4 separate regions of the Homo sapiens genome follow, and regions 2, 3 and 4 are each linked to region 1. Evidence: promoter capture Hi-C in human tissues and cell types (Jung and others, 2019). All regions are on one chromosome and are shown on one strand. Each heading gives the region's core, a stretch centred on a gene start or on the middle of the fragment in contact. The rest is flanking DNA. Distances are from core to core; before and after follow the strand shown.

What was found. Contacts are between HindIII fragments. The study calls those that stand out against the background at their distance.
Region 2: a contact is called between a fragment that was not itself captured here and the fragment with the promoter of TTLL11 in region 1, in 1 of the 25 tissues and cell types used here (dorsolateral prefrontal cortex).
Region 3: a fragment that was not itself captured here is called in contact with the fragment with the promoter of TTLL11 in region 1 in 1 of the 25 tissues and cell types used here (lymphoblastoid cells).
Region 4: a fragment that was not itself captured here is called in contact with the fragment with the promoter of TTLL11 in region 1 in 1 of the 25 tissues and cell types used here (pancreas).

What each region holds. Positions count from the first base shown.
Region 1 is chr9:122,091,606-122,095,113 of GRCh38, reverse strand. It overlaps TTLL11 (tubulin tyrosine ligase like 11), which reads left to right and starts at 1,806. Exons shown (of 9, transcript NM_001139442.2): 1 at 1,806-2,427. The coding sequence starts at 1,966. It overlaps LOC124902263 (a long non-coding RNA gene), which reads right to left and starts at 982. Exons shown (of 2, transcript XR_007061757.1): 1 at 942-982. RefSeq lists enhancers at 1,626-1,815, 1,565-2,278 and a silencer at 2,166-2,215. The HindIII fragment of the contact is 16,076 bases long and covers 1-3,508 here.
Region 2 is chr9:121,737,812-121,741,001 of GRCh38, reverse strand. All of the region lies in intron 3 of DAB2IP (DAB2 interacting protein), which reads right to left. Among named protein-coding and RNA genes, the nearest start is that of DAB2IP, 88 kb to the right of the region's middle. RefSeq lists an enhancer at 2,357-3,133. The HindIII fragment of the contact is 7,838 bases long and covers 1-3,190 here.
Region 3 is chr9:122,396,691-122,399,850 of GRCh38, reverse strand. No RefSeq gene overlaps it. Among named protein-coding and RNA genes, the nearest start is that of PTGS1, 27 kb to the right of the region's middle. The HindIII fragment of the contact is 3,359 bases long and covers 79-3,160 here.
Region 4 is chr9:121,702,870-121,706,474 of GRCh38, reverse strand. The region is part of intron 3 of DAB2IP (DAB2 interacting protein); the gene reads right to left. Among named protein-coding and RNA genes, the nearest start is that of DAB2IP, 53 kb to the right of the region's middle. The HindIII fragment of the contact is 7,572 bases long and covers 1-3,605 here.

The DNA of each region.
Region 1 (3,508 bases), core at 557-3,056:
TTAAAATGATGGCAACTCCCAAAAATGGAAAGCAGGGGCTCAAACAGGTATTTGTATACCAATGTTAACCGACATTCTTCACAATAGCCAAAAGGTGGAAACAACCTAAGTCCATTGACAGATGAATGGATAAAAACGAGGTGGTGTATGCACACGACGAAATATTTTTCAGTCTTAAAAATGAGTGAAATTTGGACTCATGCTACAACATGGAGAAACCTTGAGGACATTATGCTACGTGAAATAAGCCAGACAAATACTGTATGATTCCACTGACATGAGGAACCAGGAATAGTCAAATTCATAGTCAGAAAGTAGAAATGGTGGTTCCCAGGGACTAGGAGAGAAGGGAATCCCGACTTATTGTTTCATAGACACAAAGTTTCAGTTTGGTAAGATAAAAGAGTTCCGGAGACCCATAGTGGTGCTGGTTGCACAACAATGTGAGTATACAGAATGCCACTGAATTGTACACTAAAAATGGTTAAAATGGCAAATTTTGTTATATTTTACCACAACAAAAAAAGTGATATAAGTAAAAGCAGTCAGGCTGGACGTGGTGGCTCACGCTTGTAATCTCAGCACTTTGGGAGGCTGAGGCGGGTGGATCATCTGAGGTCGGGAGTTAGAGACCAGCCTGGCCAAGATGGTGAAACCCCGTCTATACTAAAAATACAAAAAATTAGCCGGGCATGGTGGCCGGCTCCTGCAATCCCAGCTACTCACAAGGCTGAGGCAGGAGAATTGCTTGAAGCCGGGAGGCGGAGGCTGCAATGAGCCGAGATCACACCATTGCATCCCAGCCTGGGCGACAAGAGCGAAACTCTGTAACAACATCAACAACAACAACAAAACAAAAACAAAAACAAAAAAGAAAACAAGAGACGCGGTGGTTCTGCTTGTAATCCTAGTACTTTGGGAGGCCGAGGCTGGCAGATTACCTGAGGTCAGGAGTTTGAGAACAGCCTCGGCAACATGGCGAAACCACGTTTCTACGAGAAACACAAAACTTAGCCGGGAGTGGTGGTACATTCGTGTAGTCTCAGCTACTCGGGAGGTTGGGGTGGGAGGATCCCTTGAGCTCTGGAAGTTGAGGCTGCTGCAGTGAGCCGGGATCGCGCCACTGCACTCCAGCCTGGGCGACAGAGAGAGACCCTGTCTAAAAAAAAAAAAAAAAAAGAAAAAAAGAAAAGAAAAAGAAAAAATCGTTAATATCCTCAACTCGAGTGGGAATCTATAGGGGGCTTACCCATGCCCATGACTTCCCCATCCCATCGGGAGCTCCCTGAGAACAGGGAAAAGTGCCTCCCCTCTTATCTGGGGGCGCTCAAAGGACCAGCAGAGGGTTTCTTCAGCGGAACACTCTCTGCTCCCCTAGGGCCTGGGCTGCTCACATCCATCGCACTGAGGAGGGTCCCATCCATTGCACTGAGGAGGGTCCCATCCATTGCACTGAGGAGGGTCCCACTGGGGGGCTCCTCCTCCGTCCTATCGAGAGTTATCCCAGCGAGTGTTGGCGGGGACTGAGCCTCCTGCTTGAGGTAGTTGTTTTTACTCCCAGTCCCCAGGCTCACGAGCCCCACGCGCGCTCAATCTGCCCTCCCGCTTCTCCTCGCCACTCCGAGTTCTGCGCCCTCGAGATCCAGCGCATCCGCGGGGTGGGCGGGTCCTGGCGGCTCTTTGCCCTCTTCCAACATGGCCGCCGCTGCCTCTGTGACAGGCAGGGTCACGTGGGCAGCCTCGCCTATGAGGTCGCTGGGGCTCGGCCGGCGATTGTCCCTTCCCGGACCCCGTCTCGATGCGGTGACTGCCGCTGTCAACCCGAGCCTGAGCGATCATGGCAACGGGCTCGGGCGGGGAACGCGTGGCAGCGGCTGCAGCGGCGGCAGTTTGGTGGCGGACTGGGGCGGCGGAGCGGCGGCGGCGGCGGCGGTGGCACTGGCACTGGCCCCGGCCCTGAGCACCATGCGGCGGGGCAGCTCCGAGAGCGAGCTGGCGGCCCGGTGGGAGGCGGAGGCGGTGGCTGCGGCCAAAGCGGCGGCCAAAGCTGAGGCCGAGGCCACAGCGGAGACGGTGGCGGAACAGGTCCGCGTGGACGCGGGCGCGGCCGGGGAACCGGAGTGCAAGGCAGGGGAGGAGCAGCCCAAGGTCCTGGCCCCGGCCCCGGCGCAGCCCAGTGCGGCTGAGGAGGGGAACACCCAGGTCCTTCAGCGGCCGCCGCCCACGCTGCCCCCGTCCAAGCCGAAGCCGGTGCAGGGCCTCTGCCCGCACGGGAAGCCCCGGGACAAGGGCCGAAGCTGCAAGCGGAGCTCGGGCCACGGTTCCGGCGAGAACGGCTCCCAGCGGCCGGTCACCGTGGACAGCTCCAAGGCCAGGACCTCCCTGGATGCCCTGAAGATCAGCATCCGCCAGCTCAAGTGGAAGGAGGTGAGGCCCGGCCCGACCCGGCCGCGTGGGCACAGTGGGGTGGACAGGACGACCTCAGAGGTCTCGGCACGGCCCAGGTCAGGTCGGCGGGCGAGGGCTGAGCTCCTGCGGTGCACCACGCTCGGGCCTGCTTGTCAGCCGCAAAGTGCTCATCCTTCAAGGCCTACCCCCCAAAATCACTTCCTCCAAGAGGGCCCCCCAGACCCCTCCAGGTCAAGTTAGCCACTCACTCCTCTGCCTCCCTGCAGCTCTTTTTATGTCTCAGCCATCAGCATTTGCCTCTGCTTGTAGATATGTGTACGTCTGTCTCCTCCACCAGCTTGTAAGCCCCTGGGGCCCCGGACCCGCTCTCTCACTTCTTCATTGAAGTTATATTTGTTTAGCACTTGCTGTGTGACTCTTGGGCAGAGGAACACTTTTTATTTTGGAGGCAGACAGGCCTAGGGTCTCACTACACTTTGCTACTTAGCTGTGTGACCTTGAGTAAGTTGCTTCACCTCTTCAGCCTATTACCTTCTCTGTAAAGTGAGGCCAATTATACTTATCTCATCATCTTGTTAGCATTAGAAGACTCACTACTTAGTGTTTTATAGCACAAGTCTGCAATAAATGGTAACTTACGTTACCACCTTCTCCTTTCTCTCTTCTTCCACCATCATCACCATCACCACCACCAGCACCACCACTGTCCTCATGATCAGTGGTATAAAATCAGGCACTGTATTTTATATTCCAGGCTTGGCTTACGGCATGTGTCAGTAAGCAGTGAATGAAAGGGTGAATGAATACATGAGTTATCATCCCTGAGCCCATTTTAGACTGGCAGGGGATGGAATGTAGCACCAGTGACTCTAGAGGTGTCTGTTGCAATTGGCTACGTGGATAAAGCCATTTGACTTTATTTGCAGCATATAAGGTATTTAATGTGCTTTCAGGAGTGTCAGGAGTTTGATTAAGGATAGCTGAGTGTGGACACAGCCAGTGGTAACAGGGATCTGCTGCGGGTAACAGAGGACTCAGGTTCTTAGCCCTGTGCCTTGGCTATGGTAGATGCTCGGTAATGGTTTCATTAAGTTGGAAC
Region 2 (3,190 bases), core at 96-2,595, 350 kb after region 1:
CCTCACCCCCAGGATTAGTCAGTAAGAAGAGGCCCAATTTGGGGGTTTTGCAGGCCCAGGCTCCAATTCTGGTCGTGTCATTTAGCAACTGTGGAACCCTGGACAAATCCTTTTACTTTCCTGAGTCTCAGTTTCCTCATGTATAAAATGAGGTAATACACTATCCCCTGCAGATAACAGATGTAAAAACACTGGTTAACCAGGAAAAGCATTTAACAAAGCAACTGGGAACCCCAAACTCAAATATCTGAGTGCCATTCATTCAACAGACACTGAAACCCACCAGGCGTCTAGCAGACATTATGTTATCTCCAGCTGTGTATGCCAACCCTGCACCCTCAAGCCGATGCATTCTGAACCCTCCCCAGAGCCAGCAAAAAGTCTTGGGGCAGGGTTGTTGGGGGTGAGGGTTAGAGCTCCTGGCCACCAAAATATTGTGTAAAACATCTCAAACTTCTCCAGAAGCCAAACACATAAAGGAGCCTTCCAGAGAAATACCCTTGGTGTAAAGGAAGTCTAGCTCTGCTCTGGGAAAGACACTTGAGGTAAGCCAGGCTCCAGGATACTCTTATTTAGGGGCCGTGGACCCAGAGAGACTGGTGTAAGGAAAGGGGCTGACGGGGGGAACACAGGGTCAACAGACTCAGCATTCAGTCCAAAAACGTGACAGGGCACAGTGAGCAAGCCTTCCAGAGAGTGGGTGGAGAGGGCTCAGAGAGCTGGGAAAGATCACTGTGGGGGGCCTATCGGCGCTCCTGAATCAGAATCTCCAGGCTGAGATCCACTGGGTCAGCTGCTGCTGGTAAACCTACGCTGTGGACAGAGAACATTCAGGCCCCTCCCTGGCCCTCCCCTCCTCAACATCCTGGGCCAGCTGGGTCCTCACGCACTTCTTTGCTCACTGCTGTCCCCGCCACCTTCTCACCTCCTTTTCCTACTCAACACACCTGTCTGTTCCGACCCCACTGGGTCTCCTTGAGGACACCAAAGGCCTTCATGTTGCCAAAGTCAACCAGTTTCTGTGCCTTACTACCCCGTGAACCCAGGCCACCCTGCTCCAGCTTTCCTCTGTTCTCACAGGCTGCTAGCACCTCACCTCCTTTCCTCCCAGTGCTGGAGCTCCTCAGGGCTGTTTCGGAGACACTTCCTTAGCACAACACTTTCCTTTGGTGATTCTTTCCACTCCCATAGCTCTAAATACCTCCAGCATGCTCACGACTCCTAAGTGCATCCCCAGCCCTATCCTCCTCTGAGCTCCGGACCCATGTGTCTCCATGCTTGCCTGACAGCGCCTCTGGGACACCTCTCGGAGCTTCACGTCTGAAATGTCCAGCGTGGAGCCTCAGTAGCAAAGCCAGGAGCCCTTCCTTTCCCTGGCCTTTGGAATCCAATCCAACACAAATCCTGCTGCTACCCCCTCTGAAATCCCTCATACCTGTTTACTCCTCTCCATCTTCCCCAGGCAGCCTGCTGTCCGGGCAGCCTCCCCAACCACTGGGCTTCCCCTTACCCCTACCAGGGGAGTCAGAGGGACCCTTCAGAAATGCAAATCAGATTACTGAACTCCTCACCTTAAAAGCCTTCAATTACTCCCCACTGCACTGAATAAATCTGAACTGCTACCCAGGTGAAAGACATTGGCAGTCATGACCTACCTACTCTCTGACCTCATCCAGCAACACCCAACGCCCCCCACCACACACACCAAAGTCTCTGTTTCCTGCTCAAGGACTTTGTACTTGCTGCTCCCTAGGCTAGGAGTTCTTGCTCCAGCACACTCTAACAGCAAACTGGCAGGCTTCTGGCATCTTCTGCAACTCAATCCTTCCCTGACTGCTCCATCTACAACAGGTCCTGCCCTGCCCCCATTACTCCCTAGTGGAACACTTGGCTTGTTTCCTTCATAGCATCTTGCTCATGCAGCTAGCAAATATTTAAGTGCAAACTATGTGCCAAGCACTATTTAGGCACTGGGAACACAGGTGCTGAACAAAGCAGACAGAAATTCCCTGACTCACATTTCAGTAGGGGAACTTCACTATGTTTCCCAAAGCAGAATCACTTTGTTTCTCTGCTTATTTCTTATCTGCCTCTCCCATCACAAGGTAAGCTGTGTGTGGCCAAGCTCTACGTGTTGTATTTCTGTGTCTTAAGAGAGGGTCTGACACAGTATAAGAGCTCAGTAAGTCCTGATGAAATCAAGATGCAAAAACAAAGACCAGAGCAGCCAAAGAACCAAACCCCAAACCCTGAGAGACACAAGAAATCAAGAGCCAGGTCTTGAATGCCTCCCATGGCGTCTCTCCCTAACCCTGGGGACCTCAGGTGGGAAGGAAAGCTTCTGTGACAGCCCAGCCTTCTGGGGTCAGACAGAGGCACATGTGGCAGTTTCGTTTAACTGCTCTGGAACAGGTGGATGACTGCAGGCCTGAGAAGTTAGGGAGGCTTCTTGAAGAGGCTAGATCTGAACAAGGCCAACCCACAACTCCCTCCCAGATCTAGGGAGGAGGAAAACACATTTGTGTTTTAGGGCTCTGATGTCTGATGTTCTTTGCTCTAGCAGGAAAGAAGAAAAAAAAACCCTTTACTTTTATTAGTGTCTGGATCAATAAAAGTTTTAGAAGTAAAGCTTCCCTCCTGCAATACTAACTGAGAGAGAGAGAGACAGACATGGATTATTAAATCTGTCTCAGAGAGGCAGGGCTGGGAGAGCGCGAGGGCACAGGGGCACCGGCAGTTTCCCCCTCACCTGTGCTGGGAGCCTCTGGCTAAAGGCCCTCATTAGCCCTGCAGCCTAGGGTCAAGGCCCGTTCCTCACAGCTCACCCACCAAATGCTGGTTCCCTGAGCCTAGGTCAGCAGCCAGGCCGCTGGACACCCACCTTCCAGGTGCCCCACAACCTTGCCTGCTTGGCCTTCTCTGAGCTGTGCCCTAAAGCTTCCCCCCAGCCCACCTCCCCACCTCCAGGTTGGAAGCTCCAGGAGGGCAGGGCTTGCTTCCCTGGAGGAGGAACCAGTTTAGCAACCCCAGCCCCCACCTTCACTCTTCCTCCCATGTCCAAGGGAGTCCCCCATTCAGTCCCCCAAGCCTTGCACTTTCACAGCACACCAACAAGCCCTGCCCACTGAGGACTCAGTCCTGGGACCAGGCCTCATTGGAGAAACAGCTCCTCACCCTCCAGCCCGACCAA
Region 3 (3,160 bases), core at 509-3,008, 300 kb before region 1:
ATTAAGAGACTCTGATGCATTCTTTAGTAGTCAGTTGCATTTTTCAGCTTCAGAATTTCGGCTTGATTCTTTTTAATTATTTCAATATCTTGGTTAAATTGATCTGATAGGATTCTGAATTCCTTCTCTGTATTATCTTGTATTTCACTGAGTTTCCTCAAAATAGCTATTTCAAATTCTCTGTCTGAAAAGCCTAGAGGTGTAGATATATGACCTCTCTCTGAGAGATAGAGAAAGATCACATATTTCTATCTCTCTAGGATAAATCCCTGATGACTTATTTAGTTTGTTTAGTAAGGTCATGTTTTCTTGAGTGGTATTGATGCTTGTGGATGTTCACTGGTGTCTGGACATTGAAAAGTTAGATATTTGTGGTAGTCTTTGCAGTCTGGGCTTCTTGGGAAAGCCTTCTTGGGAAGGCTTTCCAGGTATTCGAAGGGACTTGGGTGTTGTCATCTAAGTTTTTGGTCACCATAGTCATATCAGCATTAGGAGGCACCCCAAGCCCAGTAATGCTGTGGCTCTTGCAGACTTGTAGAGGTACCACTTGATGGTCTTGGATAAGATCTGGAAGAATTGTCTGGATTACCAGGCAGATATTCTTGTTCTCTTCCCTTACTTTCTCCCAAACAGACAGAGTCTCTCTGTCTCTGTGCTGAGCTGCCTACAACTGGGGGAGGGGTGGCACAAGCACCCCTGTGGCCACCACCACTGGGACTGCACTAGGTCAGACCTGAAGCCAGCACAGCACTGTTTCTTACCCAAGGCCCATTATAACCACTACCTGGCTACCACCACCTTTGTTTACTCAAGGCTTTAGGGCTTTGCAGTTAGCAGGCAGTAAGTCAGCCAAGCTTGTGTCCTTCCCTTCAGGGCAGCGAGTTCCCCCAAGCAGGTCCGTAGATGCTGTTTGGGGACCAGAGCCTGGAGTTGAAAATCTTAAGAATCTGCCTTGTGTTCTATTCTACTGCAGCTGAGCTGCAGACAAAGCTACAAGTCAAGTCTTTCCCACTCATCCCTCCCCTTCCCACAGGCAGAGGAGTCTCTCCCCATGGCCAGCACCACCACAGGCCCATGGGGAGTACTGCCTGGCTACCACCAATGTTCACACAAGGCCAAGAGCTCTTCAGGAAGCTTGTGGTGAATGCTGCCAGACCTAGGACTCACGTATCAGGGCAGTGGTCTCCCCTCTGGCCCAGGTCAGGTCCAGAAATGCTGTGCGAGAGCCAAGGCCTGGAATCAGGGATACTGAGAGCCCACTTGGTGCTCTGCCCCACTGTGGCCGAGCTAGTACCTAAGCTGCAAGATGAAATCCCCTTTACTTTTCCCCCTGCTTTTCTCAAGTAGAAGGAGTCTCTCCCCATAGCCACCACAGCTGGGAATGTGCTGGGTCACACCTGAAGTCAGCACATCTCAGAATCTCACTCAAGGGCCATAGTGTGTACTACCTGGCTACTGCTGCTGATTATTCAGGGCCCAAGGGCACTTTAGTCAGCAGGTGGTGAATACTATCAGGACTAGATCCTTTCATTCAAGGCAACAGGTTCCCTTCTGCCTTATATGGCCCATATAAGCCCAGGATATGTCTAGAAATGTCATCTGGAAGTTAGGTCCTGGAATGGGTGCCTCAGGACTCTGCCCGGTGCCCTAAACTACTGTGGCTGAGCTGGTATCCAAGTGGCAAGACAAGTCCTCTTTACTCTTCTCTCCTCAAGCTGAAGGAAGGAGTCTCTTTGAGAGCTGTGAGTTGCACTGCCTAGGGTTGGGAGAGGGGTGGCACAAGCACTCCCTTGGCTATCGCAGCAGGTCACATGCCCCTCAAGTCCACTGGCTCCAAGCGCAGATCAGACTTTCCTAGGAGTTGTAATCCTTGTGGCCTATACTGCCTTTCAAGTTTATTTAGAACCCCAGAGCCCTTTAGCCCATTCAGCAACTGGGATGGATGCTTCCCCTCTGGCTAGGGCTGATCTAAATTCTCCCTCATGGGTATTAGCTGAGTTCTGCCTGGTGTTGCTTTCCAGTGTAACAAGGCAACACTGAGTTCTAACACAAAGTCCTACAACCACTACACTCTCCCTACACAGATTCTCTGTGCCATGTGGCTGCTGCCAGGGATCGGGGAGGGATGGCTCTGGCAATTCAAGACCATCCTTCCTACCCTCCTCAGTGCCTCTTTCAGTAATATAAAGTTAAAACCAGGTACTACAATCATTCACTTGAATTTTGGTTCTAATGAAGGTGCATTTTTTGTGTAGACAGTTGTTAAATTTGGTGTTCCTGTGGGGAAGACAATTGGTAGAAGCTTCTATTCTGCCTTCTTGCTCTGCCTCCTGCGTTTCTGACACTTTTTTTAACTCAAAAATTACTAAAAGAGTGGACTGTGTGTACCCAACAGTCTTTGTTTCTCTGTTGTTCTATAATTACATAACTTCACTTCTTAAGCTCTTTGCTTGCAACTATATCGAGCTGCTACCAGGTCAACAGTAAGGCCATTGTGATGGTCTTTGTAACATTCTAGGGATAGGGCCCACAGAGGCAGAACAGAACTAAGAAAATTCAGATTCACTGAAGCAGACTTTCCACGTTTCCCAGCCCCTTTGAACACCTTCCCTATGTATGAGGAATTTTCCTTATCATGGGTTCCTCCTTTTCAAGGCACAAACCAGAAAACTCACTTTCCATTCTTTCTTGTAGCTGCAGTACAGACACATGAGCTGGGCTCCACCAATCCGACACAAAATAAAGATAATTTTAATTCTAAGTAGAGAAAAGAGAGGAAGCAAGTATCACACAGATTCCATTTTCCAGCAAAAGTGGCTGTAGAAGCAGCCTGTTTTGGAAGGCAGCAGTAGTGGGGTTTGGGCAGCAAAGGTGTCATTTGAGATGCTGTGTCCATGGCAGTAGTAGAGGCATCTCCACTGGACAGTGGCCACCATTCCTAGGTGCAAACCCTCCAAGCCTAATTCCCTGGTCCTCCCAGTGGCTCCATGAGCTATGTAATGTCCTATAATAAATTCCTTCCTGCTTATACAGGCTAGAGAATGTTCTGTTGTTTGCATTGAGAGTCCTGAATGAATCACCCATTGTATTAGTCGGGGTTCTCCAGAGAATTAGAACCAACAGAATATATGTATATTATTATTATTATTATTATTATTAT
Region 4 (3,605 bases), core at 917-3,416, 390 kb after region 1:
CTCCACCGCGAACTCAGAGAGAAGTGGAGGGGAGGGAGTTGGGCCCTTGGTGGAGAGTTGGCTGTGAGAAGCTGCCTCAGGCTCCCAGGCTCTGACTGGGGGGTGGCTTCCCTGCAGCGATAGCCCACAGGCCCCTGGAGGGGTGGGAAAACAGAGTGGCCAGTGACTGTCCCTCCCACAGCCCAAGCCTTGGGCATGTCACCCGGCTGCTCTGAGGTTGGTGCAGCCCCACCTCAGCCCAGGCTTGCTATCCACACATTCTCACCCCATCCCCAGGCAGATGCTGCCCTGGACACACCTCGCAGATGGATGCACTGATGGCCAAGAGACTAGAACCACCAGAGGTTCTTCGTGCAAGGGGAGCATTCACTCACCTACAGCCAATCATCACAAGGGAGCGGACTGGCAGCTCAGAGCAGAGAGAAGCTAAGCACACCCTGCCACCCTGGAAGGAGTCACCAAGCCGACTGGGGGAGCTGGATGCTTTTCCCTCTTGCCTTTTTGGTCTCTTATGATCTCCTCCAGTTTTGTTCTGTGGCCTTCTAAAATAGCCATTAATTAGAGCCTGGTAATTAACTTACTGGTTCAAGTAATATTTTGCAAAGGAATTCCATTAAAGAGTCGATTTGCATATTCTAATATGGGGCCTGGAAATAGGCAGGGCTACCTGGAGGAGAATGAAAGCAGTCCCATGGCACCTGTCAGGCCTGGCACCTGGGCCTGGGCTCTGCCTGGTAACCGAAGGTGAGAGGGGAGGCAAAGAGTTGCTCTCTGGGAAGTTCTCCCCAAGAAGGTGGGGAGCTTATTCACACACCGGCCAGCTCAGTGTCCATGCACCCAGACAGAAAGTGCACACATGCACACAAGTATGCACGTGAGTGCTCACAGAACACACTATACACATGGGCACAACAGGGTATACGTACACAGACATGTACAAACAACTGGCAGATGCATACCCAAGAAGAAAACACACGATAATAACAATAGTAGCCAACACTTAACCTGAACACATAGATTGAATCATATGCAATTGCCTGTATTTGGCCTCCCAAAACAGCAACTTTATACAGTCTCACCCCATATGATGTACCAGGCACTGTTCCAAATACTTCACCTGTATTAACTCAATTAAATGCACAGACATGTATAAGGACATTAACATATAATGTACACACATCTTCATGAGGACAGGTGCACACTTGCAACACATACAAAAGACGTACACAGACAAACATATGCTTGTGCAAAGAAAGGCTTCTCCAGCCTTTGAAACCCCAGCCTTGCTGATCCCATTCTCACTAGCTAATTTCCACCGTTCCTAAAAACATTGCCCAGCTCAGATCTTGGGAAGGTACACAAGGGAGCTCCAGATCTAAAGGAGAGTAATAAAAATGAGAAAGCAAAAAATAAATTGATTCTTCTATACGTCCAGGTCGTATTCTGTGGCTCTCCCCTTCCTCTCTAGAGATGAGACTCAGAATCATGTGCTCCTGGGCCGGTCAGCCCTGCCCCCAAAGGTGCCCATGGGGCTCAAGTACAATGCTGCAGTTGAGAGGGGATCTGGTTCCAATGCCTGGCTTCTGCATAGGCCCCAGCTCCATGCCTTTGACTGTGTGCCTCAGTTTTCCTGGCCATAGAGCAGCCCTTTCACTGCCTACCTACCCTACAGGGCAGAAGACCTCTTAAAGTGCTGTGTAAATACAGGGCATCCTTATGAATGATAGGATTAGGAATTAAACCTGATTTCCTTATGGAGAGGAGAGGACGGGAGGAAGGTGGAAAGAAGAAGGGAGGGGGAGGAGGAGAGGACAGCCAGGTGAGCCTTCCTTACAGGTAATTAATGAATTCCTTGTCATACCTCTTGGAAGGCAGAGGCTCATTTAACGTGTAGGATCCACCTACATGGGACCTCTCAGAGCTGAGGAAGACCAAACAGGGCAACCAAGAATCCTGCAAGAGGCTTGTCAGAACACTCAGGCAAAGGACAGGAATAGACAAGTCTCAAAAGAAGCACTGCCACTGGCCATGAAACTCAGGAAAGCACTATTCGATCACCAACAAGCAAATGAATGCAAATAACAAAAAAATGCCCTTTTTCTGCCTATCCAAACGATAAAGACTGCTTTAATGATGACATCCAATGTTTTGAAGGGTGTGAGGAAACAGGTAAGCACTCTCAAAAATCACTGGGGAGGGGTATGAATTATTACAGGATTTTGGTGGGTGACATTTTTCTAAGAAAAATCTCAAACTCTTCATATTTTTAGACCTAGTAATTCTGTTTCTAAGACTTTATCCTTTGGGAAAAATCAGAAATGTAGGCAAAGATAAATATTCAAGGATTTAAATCCCAGTGTCATTTTTAATAAAGAAAACCTAGACATAACCTAAATGCCTAAATGATTAAAAACAAGTATGACCCAAACGGAAGATGGAACAATGAACTTTTAAAACTGATTATTAAAACACACATGAGAGCTTTGCTTTCCCAGGTGTAAGCAGGAATCCCTAGGAAAACATCCTGTGCTCTAGGTAATAATGGCTGTTTCTTAAGTTTAAGGCAATAATGACCCATCTTAAGCTCGAATCACCTTACCAGGCACAGCAACATCTATTATCTCTTGAACCTCAGGATGAGGCCACATGATTGCTTATTATTCCCACACTGTGGATGAGAAAACTGAGGCTTACCAAGACGAGGTGACTTAACCCTACCAATATTAACTGAAAACCTATGACATATTAATCTAACCTCTTTCACACATTATTTAATTAAATTTTAGAAACATTTAAGAAATGTGCAAGACCCAGTGTTAAATGCTAAGAAAACAGCACTGAACCAGAAAATTTCTATGAAAAGTGTGCTAAATGTATTAATGTTAATGTCTTCAACAACATGATTATCATGATGCCCATTCTGCAGATGAGCAAACTGAGGCTGCAAAAGGTTACGTGACTTGCCCCAGGAATGCTTGGCTTCAAATCCAAAGATCACATACATCCCATGACTCCTGGCAATTGTCTAAACTGCACTATCATCTTGACATCACCACACTAGACAGACTAGTCCCCAAAAAAAGGACCAGGCCCTCCCTGTCTATAGTAGGGGAGGGAACAAGGGCAAGAAACACCAGACTTGGGTGCCCAGTCCTGCCTGCACTTACTGTCAGCAACTAAAGCAGGAAAATAGACCCTAACTTCCATTTCCCCTGTTCCTCATCAACCTTCCTCACTCTCCCTCCTCCAGGGACTGTCTCACCACAAGGGGCAGAATTGATTCCTGCCTACCCAGGTCCAGGTGAGGGTCCCTGGAAGCTGCCATCCCCAACATCCAAGTACTGTATCTCCTTCCCTAGTCCCTTATCACTTGGAATTCCACCATTAGTAACTTTCAGGTGTGGGAACGCCAGCCAGCACACACATACTCTGGAAGGGGGAATCGATCCCTAACTCCACACATAGCAGCCTTGCCTACCTGCCCCAGAGCTGCCTGCATTTATGAGCTAAGCTCCGCACCAGGATGACTGGGAAGAGCTTGATGGGGGTACAGACACTTTAGAGTAACTACTGTGGTAAGTTTAGACAGGTAGCATGCCAAAGGA